Linked DNA regions of Homo sapiens: regions 1, 3, 4 and 5 are each linked to region 2. The links are contacts of gene promoters, found by promoter capture Hi-C in human tissues and cell types (Jung and others, 2019). All regions are on one chromosome and are shown on one strand. Each heading gives the region's core, a stretch centred on a gene start or on the middle of the fragment in contact. The rest is flanking DNA. Distances are from core to core; before and after follow the strand shown.

The links. Contacts are between HindIII fragments. The study calls those that stand out against the background at their distance.
Region 1: a contact is called between a fragment that was not itself captured here and the fragment with the promoter of ZNF670 in region 2, in 2 of the 25 tissues and cell types used here (adrenal gland and bladder).
Region 3: a contact is called between a fragment that was not itself captured here and the fragment with the promoter of ZNF670 in region 2, in 2 of the 25 tissues and cell types used here (H1 embryonic stem cells and hippocampus).
Region 4: a fragment that was not itself captured here is called in contact with the fragment with the promoter of ZNF670 in region 2 in 2 of the 25 tissues and cell types used here (aorta and ovary).
Region 5: a contact is called between a fragment that was not itself captured here and the fragment with the promoter of ZNF670 in region 2, in 1 of the 25 tissues and cell types used here (spleen).

What each region holds. Positions count from the first base shown.
Region 1 is chr1:246,923,885-246,926,584 of GRCh38, reverse strand. The region is part of intron 1 of AHCTF1 (AT-hook containing transcription factor 1); the gene reads left to right. Among named protein-coding and RNA genes, the nearest start is that of AHCTF1, 6.7 kb to the left of the region's middle. The HindIII fragment of the contact is 6,720 bases long and covers 1-2,700 here.
Region 2 is chr1:247,077,200-247,080,073 of GRCh38, reverse strand. It overlaps ZNF670 (zinc finger protein 670), which reads left to right and starts at 1,263. Exons shown (of 4, transcript NM_033213.5): 1 at 1,263-1,480. The coding sequence starts at 1,478. It overlaps ZNF670-ZNF695 (ZNF670-ZNF695 readthrough (NMD candidate)), which reads left to right and starts at 1,263. Exons shown (of 7, transcript NR_037894.2): 1 at 1,263-1,480. RefSeq lists silencers at 1,229-1,298, 1,087-1,400. The HindIII fragment of the contact is 11,562 bases long and covers 1-2,874 here.
Region 3 is chr1:246,856,700-246,859,472 of GRCh38, reverse strand. It overlaps AHCTF1 (AT-hook containing transcription factor 1), which reads left to right. Exons shown (of 36, transcript NM_001323342.2): 30 at 1,659-1,782. Among named protein-coding and RNA genes, the nearest start is that of LINC01341, 68 kb to the right of the region's middle. The HindIII fragment of the contact is 4,756 bases long and covers 1-2,773 here.
Region 4 is chr1:247,222,049-247,224,905 of GRCh38, reverse strand. No RefSeq gene overlaps it. Among named protein-coding and RNA genes, the nearest start is that of MIR3916, 21 kb to the right of the region's middle. The HindIII fragment of the contact is 5,898 bases long and covers 1-2,857 here.
Region 5 is chr1:247,321,688-247,324,387 of GRCh38, reverse strand. It overlaps ZNF496 (zinc finger protein 496), which reads left to right. Exons shown (of 10, transcript NM_032752.3): 6 at 1,158-1,234. Among named protein-coding and RNA genes, the nearest start is that of ZNF496, 8.8 kb to the left of the region's middle. RefSeq lists an enhancer at 1,251-1,755. The HindIII fragment of the contact is 8,506 bases long and covers 1-2,700 here.

The sequences.
Region 1 (2,700 bases), core at 51-2,550, 150 kb after region 2:
CGCGCCTGGCCCCTATTTCTAATAATAGAGTGTTTCGATGTTCTCTGTAGTGTGCTTAAATTGGAAAAGTCTTAAAACCAATTTTGCCCTATAGATTCAAAGGCTGTTAAATTTGAAAAACTTTATTAAACATTTTTTTGAACTCCTTTGTGCTAGGCACCATGATGAAGTCTGGAGAAATAAGTACTCCTCTTTTCTAGAAGCTTGGATATGAAAGGGAGGAAGACAGAATATAGTAAAGCACAATGTTACATGTATTATTAAGTGCTAGAACCTGGATTCAAAGTTTGAATTAGAAATACGTTAGCCTGTGTTGCTATAAAGGAATATGTGAAACTGGATAATTTATGAAGAAAAGAGGTTTATTTTGCCTCATGGTTCTGCAGGCTGTGCAGGCATGACACCAGCAGCTGCCTACCTTCTGGTGAGGGTGTCAGGAAGCTTCCAATCATGTCAGAAGGCAAAGGGAGAGCAGGATACTCACATGATGAGAGTGGGGAGTGAGGAGGTACCAGGCCTTTTTTTTTTTTTTTTTTTTAAAGACAGGGTCTCACTGTCGCCTAGGCTAGAATTCATTGGTGCAGTTATGGCTCACTGCAACCTTGACCTCCCAGGCTCAAGCAATCCCAGTAGCTGGGACTACAGGCAGGCGCCACCACACCTGGCTAATTATTTTTCGTAGAGATGAGATTTCGCCATGTGGCCCAGGCTGGTGTCAAATTCCTGGGCTCAGTCAGTCTGCCTGCCTCAGCCTCCCAAAGTGCTGGGAGCCACCATGCCTGGCTTTAAACAGCCAGATCTCATGTGAATTCATTACTGTGGAGAGGACACCAACCCATTCATGAGGGGTCCTCTCCCATGACCCAGACACCTCCTACCAGGCCCCACCTCCAACACTGGGGATCACATTTCAGTATGAGATTGGGAGGGGACAGTTATACAAACCACATTAGGTTTATTTTTTATATTTTTAGAAACAGGATCTTGCCCAGGCTGGAGTGCAGTGGCCTGATCATAGCTTACTGCAACCTACAACTCCTGGTCTTAAGAGATCCTTCCGCCTGAGCTTCCCAGAGTGCTGGGTGTACAGGCATAAGCCATCATGTCTGGCCACAGTTTAAATACTGTGGCTTTATTCTCTTAGAGCTAGTACTTCTATATCATCTTTGTTTTGCATTCAAACAACATAACAAAACTCACCCAGCCTAAGAAATAGAACATTTACTATATTTCATTTTCCAAAAAATGCTTTTTGTGTGTTATCCTTTGGACTTTGGATTTTGTGAAAATCTTTCCAAAATTGTATTGAGATGATTTTGATTGAAGTATAGGGATCATGGAACTTTTTTGCTCATTATCCATTAGCACTCTTCTGAATACACTTTGTAAAAAGCTACTGCATGGAATTCTGAAGGTTTTGGTTCTGGTTGACTTACTTTGGTTTTAAGTTTAGTAGGAAAAATGTGTTAACTTCAGTTCATCATTAAACTAGTTTTATCAAGCTATATAAAAGGCTGTCAGAGGGGAAAACAACATAGTAACAATGTGATTCTGGCCTTTTCCATCTGTTTCTCTAAAAATTTTTTTGGTACTAAGCTACTTAGGAGATGAATAGGGTCCATTTGTGTATATAAGAGCAACTAAGGCTTGAGTATAGGACCCTCATGAGGGTTTTGTATTGGAGGCTAATGGTCATAGCTTCCTATTGATGCACACCTTTATATTAGGTTAGACTTTTGGATCTGTTTTGGATAATAAAAAGCAAACTTCTACTTTTGATGACTTGGAAATCTCAAACATAACTTTTTAGGTTTTGTGACTTAATGGTGACATATGTGATTAAGTTTTTGAGGCAGTCCATCAAGTTTTTGTCTAGGAGATAGCATTTATAGCCTGAACAGAAAATGATAACTCATATATTTTAATTTTTTGAGTGAATCTTTGAAATGTTTTTTTCACATAAATTTTTTTGGGGGAGGGGACTAAGATGTGGAGAGAATAAGAATGACAAGAAAGAACGTTAGGTTGATTTTTGCCTTGTTCCCATCCTAAGGCTACATAAATATGTACTGTATTTTTAAAGTTGCATTTTTATTTTATATATATATGTTTTAAAATTCTTTAATTATTGATTTTATAAGAAATCCAAGCCATACTGAAATGAGCAAATCACAAATTTGCATCACACAAAAATAAACGGCACTAATGTTTTGTGAATATTTCAGATATCTCTGTTTAAAGATAAACAGATGGAAGAATTCATAGAGATTATTGTATGAAATGCTAATTTTTAGAAATAGTTAATTTCATAAGAAAACTGAAAGGAATTGTTAAATTTATAGTAGTTCTTTTAATGTAAATATTTCTTTATAAATTTTTTAAAGTTAAACACATCTGTTAGAAGTGGCTGTTATCCTGTTATTTTACCACAGGTTTCAGTTTGATAGTATTGATTCTCTTCTGTGAGAATGGCTTGGGCTGGGTGTTGGAACTGAATGTAGTCCTTTCTGTACTCAATAGATAGGAGGGGGAGTGCTGAGAAACGGTAATGACTTGTACCTCGGATCTCTCTTTTGCCAGATTTATATTCTACGCCTTTGGGCCTTCACCTTTCTCCCAAAACAGCAGCACAGTTCCCTGAAACATGGCCCTCTTCTCAGGTCCTGTGGCATAGTATGTAGTTAGGGACTTCCAGACCTG
Region 2 (2,874 bases), core at 14-2,513:
AAACGCCATTTTTAATAGAAGAATGAGAACTAATACCTGTAGAGAAAATAATTAGAAAACCACTATTTGGCAACTCTCACTGAGATAAGTGAAATTAAGAAATAGTAATCAATAAATAATGAACAGTTACATGAAAGGAACAGGCAGACATTCCCGAACAACCTTAAAATAAAGTGGTAAAACCAGACACGTGTATCCAAATGTGCAGGCTGAATTGAAACATGCTGGAAGCTTAATATATAGAGTGATTTTTCATTAATAATATATCGATTGTAAGGCCGTCTGAGCAGGCTGCGCCATGGTCAAGCCATTGTGATCCCTGTGACCCACACGTGTACATCCAGAAGGTCCTGGAGCCAGAAAGTCTGGGACAACAGGAAAACCACAAAGGAAGAAAAACGGCTAGTTTCTGTCTTAGCTGATTAGCCAACCTTGCAGCATTTTACCGTTGTGACGTGCACTACCCTAACTGATCAATCAGCCTAGTGACACTGTGACCCCTCCCTCTTGTGACAATGTACTTTGTGACATTCTTCCCCCGCCGGTAATAAACGGCCCCTGACTGTAACTTTCCACTGCTTACCCCTCACCTATAAAACTAACTCCAATCCCACGACCCTCCGCTGACCCTCTTTTCGGACTCAGCCCGCTCGCACCCGAGTGAGTAAACTAGCCTTGCTGCTCACACTTAACCTGTTTGGGTAGTCTCTTCAATTAGGCGCGAGCTTAACATCGATCATATATTGAAACAATATTTTTGGATATATTTGGTTAAATAAATCATTGTAATCAATTTCACGTGTTGTTTTCTTTTCTATTGCTACTGGAACACACGCGGCTCACATTTTATTTCTATGGGGCGTTGCTACCTGAGAGGACATTGTCTTTTCAAAATTCAAGCTGCCTCTAATCCCACTAGAAGCAAGAAAAAAAAAAAAATTCAGGCTGCCTCCTCAAAAGACCAGAGGCCAGGAAGGTTGTGAAATCTGAAATTTTAGAATAATTGTCATCATAGTGTTTCCAATTGTAAATATCACAAATATTACTCATAAATGGACATAATCCTGTGTATGAGCTTGAATGGGAAAGTCCCCCGGGGGGCGCCAGGTCTCAGCACAGGGCAGAATCCATGCCTTAGAAAAGGACTGCAGGGAAAGAACCTGGCCTCACTCAGCGCCGTGTCTGATTGCATCTCCCGTCACTCAGGACTGAAGGGGCGGGGCCTAAGGCCCTGTCCAATCGGGCGCTGGGAAGGGGACTGTACTCTCAAGCGCGCCGCGAAAGGAGGGAGCAGCTTCCGGGACCTGGCGCGGCTTTTGTGTTGGGCAGCGCGAATGTGGCGAGCTCGGTGCGTCTCCGCTGCTCCTTCCCCTTATCCCTGGGAGGTCCAAGTGGTCCCGCGGCAGCTTCTGTTGCTCTGGGACCTGCAGGTCCCGGAAGGTCCTTAGGGAGGACCCCAGACACCGGAGACTGGGAAATGGTGAGTGTGCCGGCCAGGTGTCTCGGGAAGGGGAAAAGGGAACCGCCAGGAAGCGGTTGTGGCGAACCCGGACCTCCCCGCGGTGCCGACCCGAGTTTCCGCCGGCGCCTCGCGGCCTTAGTGGCACAGGATGCGGGGCTGGACCCGCAGCCAGACCCCGGGCCGCCTGGCTTGTCCCTGCCCCGCCGCTTCGGCCAGGCCCGGAACCCTTTCTGGGCAGCTCTGCCTCTGTAGACCCGCATCTCCCTCGGATCGTGCGGTGCCGACGGGAGGGTCCTCAGGGGAGAGTCCCGACTTGGGGTTCGGGGTTCCTGCGTGGGAGGAGCTGTGGTCTGTGAAGTCTCCAAATCCTCCTTTCTCCTGTTAGAAAGAAAACTGAGGCGCCGTTAAAATATTAAGGAGTTTATTTGAGCAGAGAGTCGTGAGTTAGGAAGCCACCAGCGTGGTTTGTGGTTTGGGGAAGGAAAGGGTTTTTTGTAAGGAACCCGAGGAAGCAAACCCAATTAAATAATTGATCGTGTACAGTTATGTAGTCACCCCATATAGACTGTGCAGCCAGATATCTCCTGGTTATGTAACCAGAGGTTAATTGGTGGGTTCGTGGTTGTTTAAGGCTGTTTTGTTTCCCTTTAAGTTATTAATTTACAAGACAAGCATGAGTTACGTTTTGGTTGGTTGTTTATTCATTCATGTGTGTATGTACATGTGTATGATGGAGTCTTGGACTCGGGCTCAAGCGATCCCCCCACCTCAGTCTCCCTAGTGCCTGTGTTTAATTATTTTCACATAACACTCCACATTTCTAAGTGTATGGCAACAGGATCTCACATCAACGACCCTGTTCCCACAGCCTAACTCTTCTGGGGCTTGTAGTAAAACCCTAAATTTCCAATTCTTTTCCTATATTCAAATGCAACATTATCAAGTATTTGTCTTTTATTGTACATTTCATACAGATGAAGTGTGTTATTTTTTTCAGAGTAGTGAGTCGTTCTGAAAATATTTGTTTTCACTCTTAAAATATTTCTGAACATTACACATGAGTGGAAAGCAGAAAATAATCACCTGACAGTTAATTGTAGAAAAAAAAAGTCTTTGTGCATCTCCTAATTTTATCTTTTTTGAGTGTGCACATCTTACCAGAGTATCTTTGGGGTGAAGTTCCCTTTTGGAAACTTTAGAGGGTGATATGTCCTCAGCCACCCTTATATCTTTTCTTGGTCCTCTGTTTAGCAGCCAGATCTCTTGGAGTGTCTAATGAATACCTTCTCCTGGGTCATCTCCTCACAGAGGACAGTTTAAAATATGGAAGTAGAGCCTCTCCAGGCAGCATCTGGGTGCCCTGGAGTTGAGAGACGTCTCCTAGTATACTCTTCGTTTAAAAAACAAATCCC
Region 3 (2,773 bases), core at 81-2,580, 220 kb after region 2:
AAGTAGAAATGGCACCTGCTCCCATGTCACACAGAGCATGGTGGACTATACTGACAAACACTTAGAATCCAGTTTGGTTAACAAGAGGGCCAGGGGAACACTAGTAAATGGGAGAGACTTCACCTAGAATTGGTGGGTCAGAAAACTGAACCTATTTGTATGTTTCTTACCCTACACACGTTTTTAACAAGGTTATTTAAAGGTAACTCCTAACTCTAAAGCTGTAAAACTACATACTTACATAAAAATCTGCATCTTAAGTAGTTTAAGATGAGAGTCCACTGAAGTTTGGACTACGATATCTTTACTTAGTAAGCATGGGCATTATTAATTACTCTAAGAACTTTAGGACCATGCCCATAAATAGCATATGTCTAGAAATTTACACTGCCTTACTTATTTGAGACAGAGTCTTGCTCTGTCGCCCAGGATGGAGTACAGTGGGGCTATTTCAGCTCCTGCAACCTCTTCTCTTGCCTCAGCCTCCCAAGTAGCTGGATTACAGGCATGCGCCACCGGTCCTGGCCTACATTGCTCTTTTGATGTGCCTTGTTCTACTAACATGTTTAAATGGTAGCTGTTAAAAGAATGTTCATAGCATTATCTTCACTGATTATTCTTACAATATTAGGCAGTCTCAAATAGAAATTTGTATTTATTTTTTTTTTTTTTTGAGACAGAGTTTCGCTCTTGTTGCCCAGGCTGGAGTGCAGTGGTGTGATCTCGGCTCACCGCAACCTCTGCCTCAGCCTCCCGAGTAGCTGGGATTACAGGCACGTGCCACCATGCCCAGCCAATTTTTGTATTATTAGAGGCGGGGTTTCACCATGTTGGCCAGGCTGGTCTCGAACTCCTGACCTCGTGATCTGCCTGCCTCAGCCTCCCAGAGTGCTGGGATTACAGGTATGAGCCTCCGTGCCTGGCCAGAAATCTTTATTGTGTTTGTGGTGGGTGGGGTTTCATACAACACAAACTCTATAGTGAAGCTAGATTTGAATCCTAGCTCAGCTACTTACTGAGTATGCGTCATGAGCTGGGATACGCAGTATAACCTTAGGCTTCAGTTTTCTTATCTACTTTTTTTGAATGTTGAGGATTAAGTAAGTTAATGTATATAAAACAGTTGCATTAGTGCCTGTTCAGCAAAAAGTGAAAAGCGAGAGGTTAAGGGGGGCTCTTGAGCTAGGTTCAGAGAATTAGAAGAAGAAGGTGTTGGCCGGGTGCAGTGGCTCATGCCTGTAATCCCAGCACTTTGGGAGGCCCAGGTGGGTGGATCACGAGGTCAGGAGATCGAGACCATCCTGGCTAAAACAGTGAAACCCCGTCTCTACTAAAAATACAAAAAATCAGCAGGGCATGGTGGCGGGCATCTGTAGTGCCAGCTACTCGGGGGGCGGAGGCAGGAGAATGGCGTGAACCTGGGAGGCAGAGCTTGCAGTGAGCCAAGATAGCGCCACTGCACTCCAGCCTGGGCGACACAGCAAGACTCCATCTCAAAAAAAAAAAAAGAAGAAAGTGTTAGCAGTCTGATAACACAGCAGCAAACCTAAAAGAACAAAAAAGCAGACCCAACAACTTTTTAAAAAGTAATAATGCAAGACTATCAGTAATCACTAAATATTTAGCATAAATAATATTCTTATTTGTATGACTTATAGGCAATTTAGAAGATGCAGAAACAAAGGATCTCTTAGTTGCAGCAGAGGCATTTTCAGAATTGAATCACTTAAGCCCGGTTCAAGGAACTGAAGCTTCTCTTTGTGCACCATCAGTCTATGAAGGGTAAGTTAATGGAGAGAAATTCAAATACTTTTAGAAAGAAGTTTAATGAAATTATGAACCAGAAGTAAAATATTCTGTGCATGTTAGATTTCACTTAGATCTTTAACATCTCCATTTTGGTAATGTTGGCTGTTTTAAAAGAAGTTTAGTTGTGCAGTTATATGTCATTTAGTAGTTACTATAAAGTTTCGGAAATATACAGAGACACGGTAAATTGAGGCAGAACTCTGGTGATTCTGTTTTTGTTGAAGACCAAGATTTCGCTCACAGCTGTGCATACCTCCATGCCCTCTGCTTTCCAGTGGTTTCAGGATGATCAGGCACAAGACTCTTGTAGGTAGACACAGTAGAGCACAGGGGAGATGACAGACAGTTTTATTTCCTTCCATTTGTTCAATACATGACTCTAAGTTTGTGTTTTTTAACGACCATTTGAAACATACTCCCAAATAATTTTCATTGACACTTTACCAGATGACGTATTCAAAGTATGGTCAAGCAGATTGGTGAGAGTGTCAGTTTATGTTCTGCAACAAGATAAACAGCCTGCCTTGGAATATAGATAAGTGCACTGCCTCCTTTACGGAAAGTCAGCTGTACTAATCAGTATGATTAGTGAAGCAATTGATTCACCTTCTGGCAAGAGGTCCTTGTCTCATTGCGAGACTGACACAGATTGCATGTCCGCACTTTTGAATAACACCGTTGTAGAGGATACAAAAAAGGGACAGCTTCAGTTATCAAGTAGTAGTAAGGGTGATTCAGTAAAATTAACCGACACAAAATATAACTTACAACATTATAAATGGTTCGTTACTTTATACATAATGAAAGGGACTTACCAGACCACCTATACAATTCAGTATCATGATAGTCACCCCTTGTACCTTGAACTAAATCACATGCTTTACGCCTGAGAAATCTAGATTAGCTGGAATTTTTGCCAGGCCTGCATGGAAAAAGTAGAAGCCAGTATGAAAGGATTATCCAA
Region 4 (2,857 bases), core at 319-2,818, 140 kb before region 2:
ACTTTTTCTCCCATTCTGTAGGTTTTCTGTTCACTCTGAAGATAGTTTCTTTTTTTGCTGTGCAGAAGCTCTTTAGTTTAATGAGATCTAGTTCTTTTAGTTTTGATGTTAGGTTGTTGATTTGAGATCTTTCTAGCTTTTTGATATGGGCATTTAGTGCTATAAATTTCCCTCTTAACACTGCTTTAGTTGCATCCCAGAGATTCTGGTACATTGTCTCTTTGTTCTTATTAGTTTCAAAGAACTTCTTAATTTCTTCCTTAATTTCATTATTTACCCCAGAGTCGTTCAGGAGTAGGTTGTTCAATTTCTATGTAGTTGTGTGGTTTTGAGTGCGTTTCTTGAGTTCTAATTTGATTGTGCTGTGGTCTGAGAGATTGCTTGTTCTGATTTCAGTTCTTTTGCATTTGCCAAGGAGTGTTTTACTTATGATTATGTGATGAATTTTAGAGTCAGTGCCATGCCTGGTGATGAGAAGAATGTATATTCTGTTGTTTTGAGTGAAGAGTTCTGTAGATATTAATCAGGGCCACTTGGTTCAGAGCTGAGTTCAAGTCCTGAATATCTTTGTTAATTTTCTGTCTCAATAATCTGTCTAATATTATCAGTGGGGTGTTAAAGTCTCCCACTGTTATTATGTGGGAGTCTAAGTCTCTTTGAAGGTCTCTAAGAACTTGTTTTATGAATCTGGGTGCTCCTGTATTGGGTGCATATATGTTTAGGATAGTTGGTTCTTGTTGAACTTTACCATTACGTAATGCCCTTCTTTTTCGATGTTTGTTGGTTTAAAGCCTGTTTTGTCAGAAACTAAGATTGTGAGCCCTGCTTTTTTCTATTTTCAATTTGCTTCGTAAATTTTCCTCCATCCCTTTATTTTGAGTCTATTTTTGTCTTTGCATGTGAGATTGACTCTTGAAGACAGTATACCAATGTGGCTTGATTCTTTATCCAGCTTGCCATTCTGTGTCTTTTAACTGGGGCACTTAGCACATTTACATTTAAGGTTAATATTGTTATTTGTGAAATTGATCCTGTCATCATGATGCTAACTGGTTATTTTGCAGACTTTTTTGTGTGGTTGTGTCATAGTTTCACTGGTCTCTGTACTTCAGTGTGCTTTTGTGGTGGCTGGTACTGGTTTTTCCTTTCCACATTTAATGCTTCTTTCAGGAGCTCTTGCAAGGGAGGCCTGGTGGTGTAGTCCCTCAGCATTAGCTTGCCTGAAAAGGATCTTATTTCTCCTTTATTTATGAAGCATGGTTTGGCTGGATATGAAATTCTGGGTTGGAAACTCTTTTCTTTACAAATATTTAATATTGGCCCCCAGTCTCTTCTGGCTTCTGCTGAGAGCTCTGTTGTTAGTCTGATGGGCTTTGCTTTGTACATGACCTGGCCTTTCTCTCTGGCTGCCCTTAACATTTTTTCTTTCATTTCAACTTTGAATAATCTGATAATTATGTGTCTTGGGGTTGATCTCCGAATGGAGTATCTTACTGGGGTCCTCTGGATTTCCTGAATTTGAATGGTGGCCAGTCCTGCTAGGTCGGGAAAGTTCTCCTGGATGATATCCTGAAGTATGTTTCCCAACTTGGTTTTGTTCTCCCCATCTCTTTCGGGCACCCCATTCAGTCACAGATTTGGTCTTTTACATAATCCCATCTTTCTTGGAGGTTTTGTTTGTCCCTTTACATTTTTTCTCTATTCTTGTCTGCCTGTCTTATTTCAGAAAGATAGTCAAGTTCTGAGATTCTTTCCTCCACTTGATTACAGTAAGGTGTGTGCCTCATTTCGACATGCTGTGATCTGCTGGCTGCCTGGAATTGGCTGAAGCTCAGTGCTTGTGACTGGCTGAGACCCAGCTATCTATACCAAAAAATACACTCCTAAATTGGGTTTTCGTTTATTTGCATACTAAGTTAGGTTGTAGTTTATTACACAGGAACTGAAAGTAGAAAGACAGCATTGGGACAATGGTCTTCCACTTATTTCATTTAACAATTTCTCCCTTGTGATCAGTCTCTCAATTTTGAGACTGGCATGGTCTGATTTAACGAGGATTCCATCTTTATCTTTAGCCTGGTAACACAAGTCATAGAAGCCTGGAGACCCACTCACTAGAAAAAAAACATAAATATTAAAAAAAAAACGTTTAAAGTTAAGCTTGTCATCCACCATTTAGAATGCCCACAAGCAAACTATTAGCTTTTCCTATAAACACATCCATATTCCCTTTTTAGTGTATTTATTATCAGTGTCTTAAGAAACAGGATATCAGCCACCTTTTAAATTAAGCTTTCTGTAGTAGCAAAATCAGGGGAAGAAAAATACAATATTCAGTATTGTTTAGCACCATGTACAACTGTCCAACAGAGTCAAAGAGGAGATGTAAAATTGTACCATGTCTCATTAAGTGCTTCTGGTGAACACATGCTATCATTCACCTTTTGGAGGATGGCTTCGACCTGTCTGAAGCCCTGGGATGTCTGGTTGACCACACAATTTAAGAATTTCACGAACGTATAAATTAGTTTCAAATTCCACACAACTGGTAACCCACTGCCAACAGGAGTGAGCCGCTAGGTTCGCCTCCACTGAAGAATCTTTCTTCAGTAAAAAGTAGCTCATCTTCATCTATTTAAAGGTATCTAGGAGGTGGCTCACACCTGTAATCCCAGCACTTGGGGAGGCTGAGGTGGACGGATTCCTTGAGGTCAAGAGTTCAAGACCAGCCTGGCCAACATGGTGAAACCCCGTCTCTGCAAATAAAAACAAACAAACAAACAAAAAAACAAAATATATATATTAGCTGGGCATATATATAGCTGGGCACACACTGGCAATCCCAGCTACTCAGGAG
Region 5 (2,700 bases), core at 62-2,561, 240 kb before region 2:
GACTCCTGAGTTTACTCCTCTCATGTCACTGAAATTTTGTACACTTTGACCAATGTCTCCCCAGTCCCCTCATTCCCTAGCCTCTGGTAACCAGCATTCTGATCTCTGCTTCTATGAGTTCAACTTTTTTAGAGTCCACATTTAAGTGAGAACATGCAGTATTTCTTTTTGTGTCTGGCTTATTGCTCGTAGCATGTCTTTCAGGTTCATTCATGTCGTCAAAAATGACAGGATTTTCCTTCTTTTTTTATGGAGTTCCACAGTAATTCTGATTGCCAACAGCCCTTACTTTTTTTTTTTTTTTTTTTCATTTGAGACAGAGCCATGTTCTGTCACCCAGGCTGGAGTGCAGTGGTGCAGCTGTGGCTCACTGCAGCCTCCATCTCTCAGGCTCAAGCAATCCTTCTGTTTCAGCTTCCCAGTTTTTTTATTTTTAATAGAGATGCGGTCTCCCTATGTTGCCCAGACTGGTCTTGAACTCCTGAGCTTAAGCAATCCTCCCACTTTGGCTTCCCAAAGAGCTAGGATTACAGGCATGAGCCACCACATCCAGACCCTAAGAGTCCTTATAGATTCCTCAACTCTACGGCTTTTTCTTTTTCTTCTTCTTTTTTTTTTTCTTTTTCTTTTTAAGAAACAAATACTCTGTGTTGTCCCTGCTGGTCTGGAACTCCTGGGCTCAAGTGATTCTCCCACCTCAGTCCCCAAAATAAGAATAGCTGAGATTACAGGCATGTACCACCACACACGGCTGAACTCCATAGAGTTTTAACCTTTATTTTCCCATAGTTTGGATAACAATGCTGAGGTCCGGGGACCTACCCGAGGTGAAAGAGTTCATTTAATTGACCGTGCTATCATGAACCCAGGCACACTCTGTTACAGCCCCCCTTGTTATATCTGGAAACAAAGTCGCAGCAATCTTTGTGGTTTACAGAGTACTTTTCATGTGCGTCATTTTGTAATCCTCATTTTACAGTTAAGAACAGAGACTGGGGTTTTATGAAAAGCACCATGAAACAGTTCCCTGTTGGTGCCTCTCTTGTGATTTTCTTTGCTACCAAAATGGAAATGAAGAGCCGCAGGAAGCTCAGAAGGTATCAGCACCAGGCCTGGCCCTGGCCCACTTTAGGACACCATTTTCTGATCTCTTTCAGTTCTGCAAGATGCTTTCCTTCTTCAGGAAGAGAATGTGCGGGACACACAGCAGGTGACCACCCTCCAGCTACCCCCGGTGAGTGGTTTCTACAGGAGTCCTTGAAAATCCCCTGTTTGCCTCTGTAGGCTACAGGGCAGCTTTCTTAGGACCCCAGCCAGCTTTCTGACTGCCACACAGGATGTTCAGTCCCAGCCCAGAAAAGCTAAAATAGGCAGAGCGTGAGCTTAAGAGACGCCCCATTTCTCCTCCTTCCCTGTGGTCCCAGCCGCCCACTGGGTCTACTGTCATCAGGCCACCTTCAGGAAGCTTTGTGCAGACGATAGCAGGAAACAAAGGCCCATGAGTCCCCATTGATGGGCCTCTCAGCATGTCTAAGTTCCCCTCTTGTGAAAAAGGAGATCTCTCTGCTCTTTTATTTTACAGAGAATTTTTCAATTTAATAATCATCGCAGCAATGGTTATATTTTAGAAATGTTAGGAAGTGGAGGGAAGAAAGCACAGATAATTTCAGTCCTGTCACAGATCTACGTGGTGAGTCATTCCAGAATTTCCTCGAATGTTCTCGTTCGTGTTTTTGTGTAAGACTTGCTTACTCGGGTGCTCTGAGGAGTCAGAGTCAGGGCTGGGGGCTGGTCCAGCAGGTGATCTTACTCGCCTCTCTCTAGCCCAGTTGCTGTCTTTGGCCATGTTTTCTGGCCATATCTCCTTCACTTTCCCTCCTAACACTTTCCACTGGCTGGCACAAGATTTAGTTATGACAGCATCATCCCCTCCCATGGGAACAGGATGTGTGGCTCCTGCTTTTGTTTAGTTGCTCCTTACCCAACAGAAAACTGTGAAAAACAGTAGACACTCTTATTACCATGTCTCAGCAGAATGTCGGAAGCTGAGCAGTTTGCTTTCTGCACAGTTCATTTGACATGACTTTATTTTATTTTTATTTTTAGAGACAGGGTCTTGCCTTGTCACCCAGGCTTCAATGCAGTGGCACAGTCGTAGTTCACTGCAGCCTCAAACTCCTGAGCTCAAGCCATCCTCCCACCTCGGTCTCCTGAGCAGCTGGGACTACAGGTGCATGCCACTACACCCAGCTAAGTTTTGTATTTCCTTGTAGAGACAGGGTCTCGCCATGTTGCCCAGGCTGGTCTCAAACTCCTGACCTCAAGTGATCCTCCTGTCTCAGCCTCCCAAAGTGCTGGGATTACAGGCATGAGCCACTGTGCCCAGCCAACATGACTTTAAACTTGGAGAAGGGAGGGCTAGGGATGGGAAGGAGTTAGCCAGGTTACCCAGTTAGGGGGCATCTCCATAACTTGCTTTTGCCCCACCAGAAATGTGGCACACGCCTGTTTACCCTGATGCTCAACACATACATGTCAGCATCTGCTGTGTACTGTGACCATTTCCAAACACAAAGGAGGTAAAACCAGTATTTCTTATTAAAATTTGGACATTTAACCAGTATAACACATAAGGGGATGCTGTTAATCCAGTACCTAATGAGGTTTGGTCTTCATCTTTCAATTCCTGCAGTCCCTAGT